Regions from separate parts of the Homo sapiens genome. Here regions 1, 2, 3, 4 and 5 are each linked to region 6. The links are contacts of gene promoters, found by promoter capture Hi-C in blood cells and fetal thymus (Javierre and others, 2016). All regions are on one chromosome and are shown on one strand. Each heading gives the region's core, a stretch centred on a gene start or on the middle of the fragment in contact. The rest is flanking DNA. Distances are from core to core; before and after follow the strand shown.

Region 1 (2,700 bases), core at 83-2,582, 240 kb after region 6:
TTTAGATTCTCTACAGATAGTGTCTCCACCTGTCTTTACTTGGGAAGACCACTCATATTACCCTCCCCTCGGAAAGCCACAGGTTTCTCCCTTCTGGGCTCTCACCTTTCTAGACAAACTGAGAGAGACTCAGATGCTACTAAACTCTGAAAGGGCAGGAGACAGTCTGGCTCCCTCTTGAGTCCCTAGCAGGCAACACAATGCCCAGTTCTAATTAGTATTCAGAAAGTAGTTGTTAATTAAATGGATACATGAATTAGTTTATATTTCACGAAAAAGAAATGACTGTTTTTTCATGCTGACAAATGTTGCCACAAATTTGGATTTTTCTGCAATTAACTAAATTCCAGATTAAATAAATTCCAGATTATCACGAAGAATACTTGGTGGAAATTGATCATCCTTGAAAATCTCTTTCTCAATGGAGAAACTCTAAGTACAAAGATGCGAAAACCAAGATATTAAGTAATGTCCATTTCTGACTTTTATTTTAGTCTTTAATACTTCAAGTCTCATATTAGGCACTTTATTCTCTAAAGAGCATTCCTTGGCAATCAGCACTAGGATTCTATCTTGGGTCATGTTCTCTAGAAGCAGAGCCTGAGGCAAGAATTTTAGTGCACATAATTTATTGAGAAAGTCCTCTCAAGAGAAAGGGAGTGAGGGAAGCAAGACAGAACAAAAGAAGGAGTAAACAGGAATACAGTATCAGTTGGAGCGCTCTTCAGCCTGATCCCATGGGAGCTCTGGAATATGAATTGAACCACAGATTTGGCATAGCCCTTTGTTGACCATGTCAGTGAGTCATTGACTGCAGGCTGACCCTGTTAGGGGTGAGTTGTGTTATCTCTCAGGTGATGTAGTTCCCATTTGGTTAAGGACAATTCTCCAGAAATGGGAGCAGCTGTAATCCATTAGCAGATGAACTTACAGTAGCTGCAGGATGAGATCACTGGCCTGGAAAACAGGAGAGTTTGGCAGGGCACCAACAGATTTATGAGAGTTTATCCCTTGTACCACTTGTACCCAGTTGTTTCTCACATGAAATCTACTCTATCCAGAAAAAGGTTTTCCAGCATCTGGTTAGCCAGGAAGGTGGAGTTTAGAGGCTGACATCAACTGGCTGAGTCATTCTGTCTACGGACATTTCATGATGAGTGAATTAAATGGGACTTATGGGCACTGTGATCCATTCATCCCTTAAAGTTTTCTGGGGGTGTATCCATTTCTGCCTTTTTACCTAGGATGTGATATTGCTTTTGATGTATTGTCTTGGAAGTTTCAGAGATATTCATTTGGATTTTCCTACTGTTTTTGTTTGTTTTCACACTACTGTAAAGAACTGCCTGCCCTGAGACTGGGTAATTTATAAAGGAAAGAGGTTAAATTGACTCACAGTTCTGCAGGGCTGGGGAGGCCTCAGGAAACTTAAAATCATGGCAGAAGGGGAAGCAGACACCTTCCTCACAAGGCTGCAGGAGAGAGAAGAGAGGAGAAGAGAAAAGAGAGGAGAAGAGAAAAGAGAGGAGAAGAGAAAGGAGAGGGGATACTGCCGCTTATAAAACCGTCAGATCTCATAAGAACTCACTATCACATAAACAGCATGGGGGCAATCCTCCCTCCACACATGGGGATTACATGTCCCTCCCATGACATGTGGGAATTACAATTCGAGATGAGATTTGGGTGGGGGCACCGAGCCAAACCATGTCACCTACTATAACACATGTTTTCTCTACTACTCAATGTGAGGGTTCTTCCAAATTTTAAGTTTGTGTATTCTGATTATAAATTTTTCTAGCCAGGAAATAACTATAGGGTGGGTTCACGGACCCTGTGGACCCACTTTGAGACGGACATATGCTAGAACTTCTGACCCGTATATAGCTTTACTCTAATGAGAGGATCCATGATGGTACTTGAGGTCCCTAGCTATTGCAGTCAACTCAGATTCCTGATTAAACATCTCACTTTTCCCAGTTTATGTTTACCCAGGTAAATGGCTATTTATCCCTTTGGAGAAAGGCTGGAGGAATCACTGCTGTATAAACTTTCCATGGTGTTTTAAGGAACTTTCTTGTAGGAACTTGACCACTACTTCAAGCAATAGGTTATGGAACTGAGGACAAGCTAAGCCTGTAAACTGGGCAAGGAATCCTGACTTTCCATTGAGGTGGCTGACCTTAGTATTCTGATCATCTTTTTTTAAATATATTTGGATTGATTATATATATTAAGCAAAACACTTATTGCTTGCCCATTGATCTCGCCCTACAATCAACATATTCTACTAGCCATCTCCTTAAATCCCTACTGATCAGAGCCTGCTACGTGCTGTGCATTTTGATAATCATGCCCACCTTGCTTCTGATGGTCAAGTGCTGCCATCTGTCCTCTGCTATTTTGAGATCTTACTATTTCCATTACTGTCAGGGAGCACAGATCTATAACAGAATCAATAATGATCATCAGTACTGATCTACAAAGGACAGACACCACTGAGCTTCTTAATAAAGTTGGTGCCCCCCTCACCTAGAAGAAGTTGTCATTTTGTCAAAGGAAATTCTCTAGGGAAGGGGGCAGCCATGAGCCTTTAGCAACCAACATTCTCAGCACCAGGCTGAAGAAGAAATCTTGATAGGGCAGTAATGGCCTTCACTTCAGGGTCCTTTCTTTCTGCACCAATGCCCCCTACATGGC
Region 2 (2,700 bases), core at 59-2,558, 200 kb before region 6:
GTCCTATGACACAGGAGAACAAGGAGAGAATGGTGTCCTGAAGGCAAAGCAAAGAGTGTTTCAAATAGGAAGGCGTGATCAACTATGCCAAAGGCCAGTAATAGCATGAGAAAGAGGAAGACTCAGAATTGACCTAAGGTCATTGGAAAAGCTGATAAAAGCAGTTTTAGTGTTAGAGGTGGGAAGAAAGGCTGATTCCTGTTGGTTTAAGAGAGAATGATAAAAAAGGAATTTAAGTCAGTAAGTTAATAACCAAAGAGATTATTCATAGGAAAAAAGAGAAGTTATGTAAAAAATATCAGAGACTATGAGCTACACTGATAAAGGCCAGAAGAGGTAGAGATACCGGAGTGGCTGAGCAAAGTGACTGTTACCAACTCAAAGTAAATAAATTTCTTTCATGTTAAGTTGCTCAGGTGTCTCCATTCCTTGAAACCTCAGGAAACTCAACTAACTTACCATTCTTTCCCCACCAGCTTTCTAACTCTACCTCTATCACATTTTAAAAATTTTATACACTTGCTTCAGTTTGCAAGCTGTGTATCCTGGTATGTTAAATGGATTGTTAAATTATTCCATTATTATATGCTGTTTAAATCCTATACATAGGATGATGCTTTCTAGATGTTCCTGTCAGCTCCCAATACTTATTTGAATGTAAATTCCCTGTGGGTGGGACGTGGTCTTGTTTATCAAAACATCCAGCCTGGTATCTGGCACACAGTAGGCTGTGGAAAAACATTAATTGTGGGAATGGATAGATGGATTGTACATATTTAAAAATGTACAGTGAAATCTGATTTTCTCAATGGCATCACTAATGGCATAGCTACTGGTATTGTCCTTTCAAATTCAACTTTTCTTTTTGTGGGTTTTTATTTCTCTCCGTGATGCTAAATGCATAATACTCTTTTTATTGCTGCTTCAAATACCAGTTAATATCAGTATTCTGGGTGGAGCTGTTCCTGGCAGGCTGTCATGAACCTAAGAGGCTGCCTTGGCACAGAGGCCCAACCTAACTGATGACCAATCCTTTCTCAAGAGCATTCCAGGGCATCTTCTCTCAGCAGGAAACTGCTGGCTGGGCCGTACCCTTAGAAAGGGATAGTGGACCCTTCTAGTACAAGAAATTAGCTCATAAAGACAGTTGTGACAACTGGCCACCATTTCAGGGGGCAAAAAAAATTATATCTCTTCTTTATACCATGCACTCAGATATACTTCTGTTGAAATTAACTATTTAAATGCAACAACTGAAACCAAAGAACTGTTACGGGTTTCTTTAAGATGTGGGTGAATATTTACTTTGCCTTGGGGGTGGCAAGGAAAGGGCCTAAGTGCTCAAAATGGATTCCATTAAATAAATTACTGATTGATGTAAAATAAGATTTTTTAAAGTATGTAAAAGTGCCAAAAACTGCATTGAAAGAAAAGTGGAAATTTGAGTGAAAATATTTGCATCATGCGTGAAAAATAGTATTAATAAACTTATCTAGGAAGAGTTCTTACAAAACAATGAGAAAGAATTGAGGCCAGCACAGTGGCTCACACCTGCAATCCCAGCACTTTGGGAGGTCGAGGCAGGTGGATCACTTGAAGCCAGTAGTTTGAGACCAGCCTGGGCAACATGGTGAAATCCTATCTGTACTAAAAATACAAAAATTAGCTGGACATGGTGGTGCACGCCTATAGTCCCAATTACTCAGGTAGCTGAGGCAGGAGAATCGCGTGAACCCACAAGGCAGAGGCTGCACTGAGCTGAGATCATGCCACTGCACTCCAGCCTGGGCTACAGGGCAAGATCCTATCTCAAAAAAAAAAAAAAAAAAAAAAAAAAAAAAAAACAGTTGAAAACCCTAGCAGAAAAATAAGCAGCTTTTATGAAAGTAATTAATTAAAAGAAAAAGTACCATTTAAAAATGTGAAGAAAATATTCATCCTTACTAGAAATTGAAGAAGTCTACGTTAAATAACAGTGAAATAAGCCTTTCCCCAATTAAATTGGCAAAGATTCCTTTATGCAATAGCATTTGTATTGCGAGGGCACAGGAAAATAAACACTCTCCTACACAACTGACATGATGCACTCTACATTTCTGATAACGTAAAGAAAGAGTTTCAGGAGGGAGGATAGGAGACCATTTATGGGAATTACAGAGCTCTATGAGGGTTAGAGAGCTGGAAATAAGGGGTGCCCTGGGACTCTGATGCTTCCCGTGTAATTCACATGAGCAAGGATAAAGGGCGTAATGGGAAAATTGAAGCTCTCAGAAGAGAACTTCAACTGACTCCCTCCAAAATGATGACTCATATACTTGGCCTTCCTGACTGATACCAAAGATAAACAGTCTGTGCTCATATCAAAACTAATTCCTCCACTTACATGCTAGATCCCATTCCTTCTTGCTCACGCAAGAACACCACTTCAGAAATTCCCCTTATGTCTTACATCATGTATTTTATTATCTTTACTGGATCATTCTATCCACTTACAAACATGCTATAATTTCTTCCACTCTAGAAAAATGAAATGAAACTTTCTTTTGAGCCTACTTTTCCCACCAGGACCTGTCCCATGTATTTGTTGCTCTTAGCAGGAAATCTTGAAATAAGTGTCCATACTAGCTCTCTCCAATTTCTTTCCTCCCGTTCTCTTGTAAACCTTCTCTTCTTTCAAGCTTTTCTCTCCACACACACTGC
Region 3 (2,700 bases), core at 131-2,630, 240 kb before region 6:
ATCAGTGAAGGCAGCCCAAAGGTTATTTTGCAGCAAGGAAAACACAAATCTGAATAGGAGACATCATGAGACTTAGAAATTAAATAGACCATAATCTGATTTTCAGCTCTTCCAAATACTAGCGATGTGGCTTTATACAAGAATCTTAAATCCTCCAACTTTTAGTTCCCTCAAATGTGAAACAGGAATCATAGCTACCTCATCAGGTTAGGTGAACTATAAAGAGAGAAGCATAGAACCTAGGTGGTTATTAAGGGAATCAAAATGATGAGGACCCTGATAACTGTCCTAGAAGTCCAGTGGCTCAAGAAGTCAACCAAGACTGATAGAGTTATAGCACTTAAAAGAAAAAAAATAAAGTTATAGATTAAATTACTTCATCTTGCATGATTGTTGTTTGTTCTATATTAAAGCATATTGTAAAGTCAGTTTTACATTTAAAACATCCAACTATAACCAAGTTAAAACACCAAAGTTTGCTGCTCCTGGAATATACTGTTAAAAAGCTGCAACAAGCTAAAACACAAAGATCCTAAGAGTTAGGTGGGGAAAAAAAGTGAAAGATTAAAGTTTTATGGCATAGCATTATCTCTACTACCCAAAGCTTAAGCAGCCACCTAAAACTGAGAATAAATATGATAACCCAAGTTTCAAATTGAAAAGCAAAACATGTTTAAACCACTTCATCAATCTACTTGGAAAAAGCAAAACACAAAATGTTCATTAATCTTATGGCAAATTCAACTTTCCAGTTGAGACTCTTTCTATATTAGGAATAAAAAATAATTTATATTGAACATTGGATATAAAAATGTAGCATGATCTGGGGCATGTGTGATGCGTTAATTCCATGAGCTTTTCTATTATTTCAGCTACTTGCTTTTTCATCCATTTAAAAGGTTGCTTCAGGACAAGCAATAAAACCCAGGAGTTTGAACTTTAGTAAACACTATTTAGTACAATAAGTACTACATTAAGTAGCTGCCAACTATACTTAGCCCTGATTAACTCTATCAGAGGTAAAACTGGACCACACTTATATTCCTGATCTCTCATTTTAATTCATAAAGGCAGCCATTCATTATAGCTTCCTTGCTTATCAGTTCTAATGCAGTAGCTGGGCCCAAAAGGATAGACTGTCCTTTGCATTGCCTTTCCCAGAAGAGATTCTATATCACTGATTTTAATATTTTAAGCAGCCAGGTATGGCGGCTCCACCTGCAATCCCAGCACTTTGGGAGGCCGAGGCAAAGAGATAACTTGAGACCGGGAGTCTGAGACCAACCCTGGCAACACAGTGAGAGCTCCCAAGACCCCCTCCCGCCCCCTCACACCAACACTCAGCCTCTGATTAACACCCGGCTCCACAAAAATAAAAATAAAAAAATTAGCCAGACATAGTGGTGCACCTGTAGTCCCAGCTACTCAGGAAGCTAAGGTGGGAGGATGGCTTAACTTGGGTCTTTGAGGCTGCAGTGAGCCACGGTCACGCCACTGCACTGTAGCCTGGAAAACAGAGAGAGAACAGTCTCCAAAAAAAATTTTTTTTTTTTTTTTGAGATGGAGTCTCACACTGTCACCCGGGCTGGAGTGCGATGGTGTGATCTCGGCTCACTGCAACCTCCACCTCCCAGGTTCATGCGATTCTCCTGCCTCAGCCTCTTGGGTAGCTGAGATTACAGGCGCACACCACCACATCTGGCTAATTTTTTGTATTTTTAGTAGAGATGGGGTTTCACTATGTTGGCCAGACTGGTCTCGAACTCCTGACCTTGTGATCCGCCCGCCTCAGCCTCCCAAAGTACTGGAATTACAGGAGTGAGCCACTGCGCCCGGACCCCCAAAAAAATTTTTAAGCAACTAATATGTGCAAGTCCCTGATCTATGTAAAAATACACACACATTTATCTTAGGGAAATTATGGTCTAGTAGAACCAACAAAACCACCTCACAACTGAAATGTAAAGTGTAAAAAACAGTACATGTTCTTAAACAGGTAAAAGCAAAAAAGTATTAGAGTACAAGAGAGTAAAAGATTACTTCAGTTTGAGAAGTAAAGTTTCATGGAAACTGCCTCAATCCCTGAAAAAAATCTAACCCAATGACAGGAATTCAACTTCCAGGTATGGCAAAAGAGGTAATTCAGATTAAGCTTCTTGCTGAAAAGAACTAGAAAAGCTGGCCATCTAATTGAAGGCATAGAAAGATAACAAAAATTACCAAACCAACATCCAGGAGAGGACAAAAATTCCAAGGTGGAGCCACTTTTTCCCTGAGACATTTACAAATCCAAAAACAGCTGCAAGAGTGAACAGCCCTTCTGAGTGCCCGATAGAAAGGGAAAAAAAGAGAAAGGGCCCCCCAGAGGAGAAAAGGATACTTGATGAACCACCTAATTTACACTAGGATGTCAAAAAGCTACACTCTGTGAGTACCTGGGAATCAGAACACAAACAGGGCTTAACACCTGAAAATGAGTTAAACCCAACCTAGATTCCTCATGCTCCTATGCGTTCCTATCTTCTTGAAGAGGATGTACATCATCCCAGCCCTCAAATTATTTTTTCAAATAAATTTTCAAATACAACATCTGGCATATATTTTAAAAATAGCCCACTATATGAAACAGAACAAAAAGAAACAATAGAAACAGACCCACAGGATCCCTTTTATCATATACTTTAACATAACTACGCTTTC
Region 4 (2,700 bases), core at 197-2,696, 170 kb before region 6:
ACTTTTTTTCCTAATCGTCCCTCCAGTGAACCTAGCTTTTCTAGCCCTGCCTTTTCAGAGTTTTTTTTCTTTTTTTTTTCTCCCCCGCCCCCAGCACCTTCTTTAAGGCTAAAGCTCCATTTAAAATGGTACGTGTGATCCCTGGTATAAGCTTGAATCTCAAAGGAAGGATGAAAAGGAGCCTTCGGTGGAGGTAGGCTTCATTACAGTTAGAACAAACGGCATTTCACTTCAATACTATGTCATGTTTGTTGGTGGGAGGGACTTAAAAGAATGGGAAAACATCTGGTTTACATGAGGTTGTGAAAGATGTCATCTTACATGTAGTTTTATAAAACAGTTGGCAGAGTAATACTTATCTTTTTACATTTTGGAATTAGTTTTAATGACTAATAAGCAGGATGAGTCCTCCTCTACACTTCAGATCACATGTCAGGAGGTTAGAAAGAAATACAGATCAGCACTGGATCAATTTTCAGTGATATTTCTGTGATTCTTCCAGATCCGAAGTGGCCTTTCAGTCTTGGGCACAGCTGCGGGGATCAGAGTGTATTGTATTGCTCACACTGGGGGTTATAAAGAAGACTCTAGCAGATACTTAGAGACCAGTCCACGGCCAGCAGAACTGACTCTCAATGCAACAGCCTGAGCACAACCTGGGACAGAATGCCAGCAAGACAACACTCTCCTCTGGGCCCCTGGGACTCCAGGACAGCGGACATTTATTATTTCCTATATGATGGTGGGTGCCAGGTGCTTTGCCAGGCACAGAGACATAAAGCTGCTCACAGTCTCCAGCAGGTGAGGAGACAGTAGAGAAACAATTCTAAATAAATGGGTGCCATTCCATGTGATTGTAAAAGGAAAATAAAATCTTGGGATCACAAACTCACTACAAAAAAAGGGAAAATTAAGCTTTGAAACTGAGCCACACAAACAAAAACCATCTTTCCTTTTGTTTCTAAACAGCTGTCTCCCCAGGTGGTCTCCCTCACCTGGACAATGTAAATTAACAGCTTATTTTCACAAGTCGGAAACAAGAGCAGACTAGAAATTGACCTTACTGCTCACCTCCAGACCAATGCATACTGGACTTCTTCCACGACTCTGTTTACTTCATCTTATGTAAAGTGCAGATTTACTGCGCACAAGGCATACATGATTGAGGGTTCCTCTACCCTCTCCTTTGCACATGCAACATTTGGATTCAGTGCACACTAATCAAAGACTCACAAGAAAGTAACCGTTTGTCTCATTTTTTCTACCCTCCTCTTTTCTCCTTCCTCTCCAGCCCACTTTTCCCCCTTTAAATACTGAAGCCCTCAAAACCCTCTTTGGAAAAAGTGCAGGACACAGATCCTACTGTGGCTTGTGTCTCTTTTTCCCTCCCTAACCAGATGCATCCTCAACCTTAGCAAAATAAACCTCTAAATTGATTGAGATCTGTCTCAGGCATTGTTTTTGGTTTATAGGATACAGATGCCAAAATCTACAGCAGACACTCAAAGGAGGTTGGGGTGACCTGGGGGGTTCTGAGATAGCTTATTCACAGAGGAGATGGTGCTTCAGTTTGAGAGCAAGGATAGGGTGTGAGAAGATGTTCCAGGGACAGGGCACAGCAGGAATGCAGAGATGGATTCTGGGTTCACATTGGCTGGAGAAGAGACAGCAAGGAAAGCAGTGATGAGGAAGGTAGATGAGACAGAAAAGGTAGGAGGAGCAGAGAAAAAGAAGAGCCCTGATGCCACGAAGGAGCTTAAAACTTACCCTACAGGTCAGTGTTTCCAAAACATAACTGTTTGGAAATCATCTGGGAGCTTTGAAAAATACAGATTCTAACATTCCTCCCTCCAGACCTACTGAATTAATGTCTCTAGTAATAAGGATCTAGGATTCAGTTTTTTAAAATTCCCAGGTAGTTATTCTAACAGGTGGGTAAGAATCAGCAGAGTCAATAAGGAGGCCACTGAAGCTTTTAAGCACAGAGTATCCAAGCTTGCTTGTATATTTAAATGACAAGTTATACAGCCCCACAGTCCATATGTAAGATCTTTCAACATGATGAAGGAAACATTGGAAATCATTAAATAGTGCTGGAAAAAAATTGACTATTAAAAATATCATCTACCATACATCAAAAAAGCAACTACAGATTGAGTGAAGAGTTTAAATTAGTATTGCAGGGCCACTTATACATGGACACAGATGAATTCAGAACCATGTATTTGTAATGGCACCATTCTCCCTGGTGGACAGGTTCTCTCCAGCAATGCTTGGCTGCCTAGGAGCAGAAAAGTGTGAGGGTGGGTTCATCCAGGATTGCACGCAGGCTAGATGGGTGCAGTAGATGGGAGAGGGGTGGAGGAACTCAGGAGTCCTGGTAAGGATGTGTTTGAATTCATTTACCATCTGTCTAAGCTGGGAAAGAAGAAATGCTAAGTGGGGTTCAAGAGAGCAGCAGAACAGGAAGGAGGGGTAGACCTATTTTTCCTAGTCTCATCTCCCAATTTCCCAGTGCTGCAAGCTTGTTAAGTATTGAGAGCCTATGTTATCCATCATTGTATTTCCAGGGCCCTCGCCTAAAGAAGTACTTGATACATGCTTGCCTGACTGGATGAAGGGAACTGAGGTCTGGCAAACTACAGCTTGTGTATTAGTCCGTTTTCACACTGCTATAAAGATGCTACCTGAAACTGAGTA
Region 5 (2,700 bases), core at 136-2,635, 220 kb after region 6:
CCACAGTGCTTCTAATTTGATATTTGACTTCAAGTGGATTTCAATTAAAGTAAATCAAACCTGGAATGGTACGCCTTGTGAGAGTGAACTTCCTCAGTGGATGTTTACGCAGATGCTGGATGCTGAAGATGCTGAAGGGAGCATGGGTTGGGATTTTGACCTATATAGCTGATAGAATCTTTTCCAATTCCTGAGATTTTATTCTAAACATCTAAGTTGACACAATCATCTCTATCTTTTGCTTTTATTGTCTATTCCATTTGTATGAGATATTTGGTATTTTACTTAATTTTGTGCTGTTTGCTCCTTTTCTATTTATTCAGCTGCATACTTGATTTTAAAACCACTCGAGAATTGGGAATGCCTATAGGCAACTGTCACAAAGAGCCGCTGCCAAGACCGCTCAGTGGTGGAAGAGCCTCTCTAGAGGAAAAATGAGCAATTTCGGAGTGAAAAAAGGAATATGAATCTTAGACTCTAGCCAGGAAAATTGATGAAAGAGGGCATCGTGGGAAACCGAAAGATCCTAAGAATAATTTATATTGCAAATTCAGAAGCAAAAATCTAAAATGGTGCAATTTGTAAAGACAATCAAGTGTTTTCTCAAGGAAAATAGAGGAGGCCCATCTCAATCTGTGATTGCTGGGATGCACTTGTCCAATACTGCCTATTTCATGACAAAAAATGGATAGGACTCTAAATTGCCTAGCAGGGTTGTTCTACGTCTGTGTCTGCTTCTCCTCACTGTATGTATTTGAACAGAGTTTTATATTTGTCTTGGGTAAGTTAAGTTTGTGAATATGACCCTCCTTTAATTCTCTAGAGGCCTCCAAGCTTACATGTCTTCGGAAACTGGGTCCCTGGGTTATTGAGCAAATACTCAACAACCTGCTCTTCTGTTCCAAGAGTGGAAGGAGAAGCAGTCATGGCCAGTTGTTGAATGTCTTTCTTCACTAATTCTGGAAAGACTTGGGGATAGTAAGGAGCTCCAAATAAAGTTTTTAGATAAATGATAGAGATTAGATAGAAAAACTTGGTACCTAAACTATGGAACTACAAAATTTTAGAACCAGGGGATAAACCTCAGAGATGATCTTGTTCACAGATTCTCAACCCTGACAGTACATTAGAATCATCTTGGTTGCTTTAAAAATCAGTACCAATACTGAGACTCTACCCCCAGAACAATTAATTTCCTTAAATTGGGCTCAGGAAATAGCCTTCTTTTTCTAATGAAGAAGATGAAGTCTGAAGGTTTCTTTAACTGCACCAGGTTCCAGAACTAGTGGTGGCAGCAGGAGGCCAGCACCAGTCTCAGGGCAGTGAAAACACTTTTTAAAGTTGTATTTCCAGAAGACATTTTTAAAAATTGTATTTCTCTATTCCATTTTTATTCAGTTCTACATAGAAACAGCGATCCTCCATCTCTTCACTCCATTTTTTTTTAACCTCTGCATTTACCAAACACCAGCTACATCTCTGAAGGAATTCTCTCTAAAAATAACTTGGACTGTGCAGATCGTTTTGTTTATTTAAGGAGCCCCTTATCAGGGACGGGACACTTGGAGGAAACTGAGAGTGTGTGGGGTTTATATGAAGCTCCCTACATTCACGCACACGCATCTTGAAATTGACCAGACAGACGGGTTCCAAAGAATGAGAATCCTGACTGGAATGGATTAAACACGGAGGAAGAAATTCTTGTCTTCTTCCCTCTCTCTTAATTCTGATCTGTAAGCTACGCTTTAGGTAAATGGGTCACATGAGAGGCTCCCAGGTGGCCTGGCCAACCTTAGGAGGAGTCTCTTGTGGCCCTCTGACCTGAGGACAGTGTTTTCCCTTACAGAAAGGAAATGAGCCTCTAAGACTGAAAAGGGGGCATTGTCATGGGAAGATGTTTGCCTCTTACAACCCAGAGCAGAAACTCAAAGCTTTTAGTCTTCACTCTTTCCTTCCCCACCACATTTCTTTTAAAAAGCAACAAATTCTAGCTGGTTATCACTTATGCTCCACCCCATTCTTGTATGTCAGCTTTTGTGCAGGAAAATAGAGAACTGTTTTCATTGCCTTATCAGAGTCCCAGGAAAGGGGAAAGGAGCGTCTGGCCCGCTATCTATGTCTTGCCTGGGGACAATGAAATGCTGAGAGCAGGCTCCAGGGGCGAGGGGCTGCCACTTCAGACCCACAGTGTCTGCAAGGACCAGGGAAGGAGGGGAGGGAGGAGGGACTCTCCTTAGCCTGCCGAAAGCATAATAGCCCCTGGGGTGGGCTGCTGCAAACAGGAAGGGTGTGGGCGGGATCTGAGCACAGCTGCTCCTGCCGCCCATTCCCACAGCCTTTGATCAGCAGGCAAATGGCATTTTGTGCCCTGAGATAAATGCCTGGTCAGAGGGTGTGGGTGTCTGTGGAGGGGGATAAGGATTAAAGATGAAGGTATTTTATAGCCTGCCTTAAGGATGTGTGTTTCCAACCTAGGATCAGGGAGGTGCTAGGTACAAAGGAACGGAAAGGTTTCCCATGAATGCATTCATTCATTCATCAAACATTTGTTCTGTACCCAGTAAATTCAGGGCACTGTGTTGGACACAGTAGGGGATGCAATGGTAAATAATACATGTACTGTTCTAGCCTAGTATGGTGAATCTGAAGCATGAGAAGGTTATTTGGGATGTCACAAATTACAGGGTGGGATGGCAAGAG
Region 6 (2,700 bases), core at 48-2,547:
CCCCAGGTTCCTGTTATTTGTTCTCTTTCATTTTAGAAATGCTGCACACACCAGGTTGCTATTACCTCACCTTCTCACTTCTGGATCTTATTTCTGAATTACCTGTCCCCCTCATTTTCACCCCTTCTTTACGGGTTTCACCTTTCACGTGATAGCTTCTGTTTTTCAGACCTCATTTTTAAAGACGGCACAACAACACTTTAATGATCAGATACTTAAACCTTTGCTTTCGTGTAAATATCTTTGCTCTTGCAGATTTTGTGCTTTGCTTTGTATGTATTAGAATAACAATATGAAAGAAAACCAGTTTTCCAAAGGTAGGAAGAATTTCCCTCTTTGAGTGACAGCTGCAGATAAATAATTAAGGTGCTTCTGGGGATGCCAATTAGAAGCAATTATCATTTGACCCGCCTTGGCTCTAAAATGCCTCGGTAATCTCCCTCTGTCACAGGAAAGTGGAGGTCTGGCTTCTGTGATTACGACGCCGATCTCTTCCAGACTTGAGAACAAGCAGTCAAAGAAATGATGCCCTTTCCGATGCTTACATCTGTCACTCACTCTTGCGTTAGCCAAGTCACACACGGTCAACCTGCAAAGTTCAACCTACGTAGCCTTGACATCGCAGGTTGCTTTAATTCCTCCAAAAATCAAGTTGTGATTTTGGTATCTCTAAAAATCAAAAATCAAATTGTTTTTATTTTCTCCTGATCTATTTTGAAAGTGCCCCCAAATACGGTTTCAGTGGCTGGGACATCGCCTGTCGCCCAGACGCTGCCGTTCGCGCGTCCAACTGTGACAGCCAGGACCCTCCCTCGCCAACTCCTGCGCTCTGCCTTTCAGTGGCGTCTCCCATCCTGGCTACTCCACCCCTACGGTGAAAATCCACATCCCTTGCCCCATCCCAACTCACGCTCTGCGAGCGCCCACCACTCAAACTTTCTCAGGCCAAACTTTCCCTCTCTACCTAGATGCTGCGGAGACCAGCCTCGGGATTTCCAGGGAGCCACGCATTCACAAAGCTACCCCAAGCTCCCGAGCTGCGGGCCGCTCCCGCGGAGCCCGCGCTCACCCCGAGTAATTGTTCTCGCTCCCCACGTCGATGGTCTCGTCCATGTCGCTCTCGGAGGTCGTCTCCTCGCAGGGGCGCTTCATCCCGGCGAAGACCGCGCGGGGCACAGCCCGGCCGGAAGCTCGGACGCCGAGCGGGGCGCAGCACCCTGACGCCCGCCTCCTCCCTCCCCGGGCCTGGGCAGGCGCGGCTCCGGCGGCGGCGCGGTCTGCTCCTAGCGGCTCTTTCCCACGCCGCAACTCTGCTCGGCCGCAAGAGCCGGCGCCGGCCACGCCCCCCCCTCGAGCGGGTGGGGCCACCTCACCCGCCCCCGCGCACCGGCCCAGGCCTTCCGCCCGGCACCTCCCCCTCGCTGGTCGGCGTGGCTCGCGATTGGCTGGGCCAGGGGGCGGGGCCGCGCTCGCCAATGCCCGCCGCAAGGCTCCAGCCGAGGCGTGGGAACGCGGCCGCGGACCTGGTACCCCAGAGCAGCGAGCGGGTGGGGAGCAGCCGGGGCGAGAATGAGCGCAATCTTGCTAACCCCTGCGGAGGGAGCGCGCGGGCGCCAACGCGGGCGCGCGGGGGCGGGCCCTGGACCTGGACCTTGGGTTTCGGCCCTCCTCCGCGCCCCGCGGTCTCGCGGGCGAAGTTTCAGTCCTGAGTGTAAAGAATAACCCCAAGCGCGTGGCTAAGTGCGAGCAGGCGCGTGTGACGTCGGGAGGCGCCGCGGCTCCTCGGCCGCCCCACTCGGTGGTCCCCTGTCTGGATCCAAACTGCTGACTGGCTGACCCGAGTGGTCACATTTGCCCTCTGGGGCTTTTGAAAACCTTAAATCAAAATTGCTTTTGAATCTGACAACTCCTGAGGCTACTTTCGCGGCCTCGGGGCTGTTTCATATAAGGACGCGAGTTTTCCTGATCAGGTCTGTCGGCCACGTTACGATTTCCAATTTGCGATCCATCAGTTACTTCCATTGGGTCTTCAGCCCCCAGGGACTGTGGATCCTAGACCCCGCGGAGAAGCCCGTGGACTGGAGCTGTGTCAGCTCTGATGGTAGGAAAGACTAGATCAATGACGCGGGCATTTCAGGACATAATCGTATATTTTCAAGTTCGAGTTTTTCGGGCTTGGATTATCCAGATAATTGCCTCCAGTCTCCTCCAGTCCCCCTGGTGTATGCACTCGCAGCCGCAGAGTTAGAGTCCGGGAGGTGAAGATTGGCGCTTGGAAATTAGATTTGGTTTCTAAAGTATGAATTCGTGTCCAACAGTTCGTGCCTTGGACAACGTGGGTTGTATAAAACTCAAGCTGTGTGTTTAAAACAGGTTTTCTAGCTGCTGGTTCTCTCCAAGTTATGTAGGACTTTTGAACTGGCCACCCCGCTGTGCGTCTGCGAGGGCAGGGACTGAGCGAGACCCAGCCAGGGGCGCCGGGAGACTGGCGGCGGCTGGGTTGGGGTCCAGCCGGAAACCACACGTTGGCAGGGCCGCTTGGTCAGTAGTGGAGAGAGCCTCTGAGAAAGGGCCGTCTATCGATCCCCAGACCCCTCCGTCACGGAGGGATTCATAGCTTCCTGGGGATCGGCCCAGGGCGTCCCTTTGACACTCCGTTCTCTGTCCACACAAGCCCGGCGCGGGGCGGGGAGAAGAGGA

Evidence for each region. The method cuts DNA at HindIII sites, captures the fragments that hold promoters and counts their contacts. A CHiCAGO score of 5 or more calls a contact.
Region 1: a contact is called between a fragment that was not itself captured here and the fragment with the promoter of HEY2 in region 6, in 4 of 17 cell types (megakaryocytes, erythroblasts, endothelial precursors and 1 more). The highest score is 8.1, in megakaryocytes.
Region 2: a contact is called between a fragment that was not itself captured here and the fragment with the promoter of HEY2 in region 6, in 4 of 17 cell types (total B cells, naive B cells, activated CD4 T cells and 1 more). The highest score is 6.5, in total B cells.
Region 3: a fragment that was not itself captured here is called in contact with the fragment with the promoter of HEY2 in region 6 in 9 of 17 cell types (total B cells, activated CD4 T cells, non-activated CD4 T cells and 6 more); the score reaches 12.3 in total B cells.
Region 4: a contact is called between a fragment that was not itself captured here and the fragment with the promoter of HEY2 in region 6, in 1 of 17 cell types (total B cells). The highest score is 5.6, in total B cells.
Region 5: a fragment that was not itself captured here is called in contact with the fragment with the promoter of HEY2 in region 6 in 2 of 17 cell types (megakaryocytes and erythroblasts); the score reaches 12.6 in megakaryocytes.

What each region holds. Positions count from the first base shown.
Region 1 is chr6:125,510,295-125,512,994 of GRCh38, reverse strand. No RefSeq gene overlaps it. Among named protein-coding and RNA genes, the nearest start is that of LINC02523, 160 kb to the left of the region's middle. The HindIII fragment of the contact is 4,089 bases long and covers 1-2,700 here.
Region 2 is chr6:125,946,098-125,948,797 of GRCh38, reverse strand. No RefSeq gene overlaps it. Among named protein-coding and RNA genes, the nearest start is that of HINT3, 9.3 kb to the left of the region's middle. RefSeq lists enhancers at 2,161-2,455, 2,106-2,600. The HindIII fragment of the contact is 2,744 bases long and covers 1-2,680 here.
Region 3 is chr6:125,990,103-125,992,802 of GRCh38, reverse strand. The region is part of intron 1 of TRMT11 (tRNA methyltransferase 11); the gene reads right to left. Among named protein-coding and RNA genes, the nearest start is that of TRMT11, 4.9 kb to the right of the region's middle. The HindIII fragment of the contact is 1,548 bases long and covers 607-2,154 here.
Region 4 is chr6:125,916,334-125,919,033 of GRCh38, reverse strand. All of the region lies in intron 11 of NCOA7 (nuclear receptor coactivator 7), which reads right to left. LOC124901397 (a long non-coding RNA gene) reads left to right here. Exons shown (of 2, transcript XR_007059741.1): 1 at 1-193; 2 at 503-854. Among named protein-coding and RNA genes, the nearest start is that of HINT3, 39 kb to the left of the region's middle. RefSeq lists an enhancer at 1-815. The HindIII fragment of the contact is 1,057 bases long and covers 918-1,974 here.
Region 5 is chr6:125,528,369-125,531,068 of GRCh38, reverse strand. No RefSeq gene overlaps it. Among named protein-coding and RNA genes, the nearest start is that of LINC02523, 140 kb to the left of the region's middle. RefSeq lists an enhancer at 1,791-2,700. The HindIII fragment of the contact is 1,097 bases long and covers 837-1,933 here.
Region 6 is chr6:125,748,229-125,750,928 of GRCh38, reverse strand. HEY2 (hes related family bHLH transcription factor with YRPW motif 2) reads right to left here and starts at 1,297. Exons shown (of 5, transcript NM_012259.3): 1 at 1,070-1,297. The coding sequence starts at 1,152. It overlaps HEY2-AS1 (HEY2 antisense RNA 1), which reads left to right and starts at 1,504. Exons shown (of 5, transcript NR_183491.1): 1 at 1,504-1,970. RefSeq lists a silencer at 1,079-1,788. The HindIII fragment of the contact is 5,509 bases long and covers 1-2,700 here.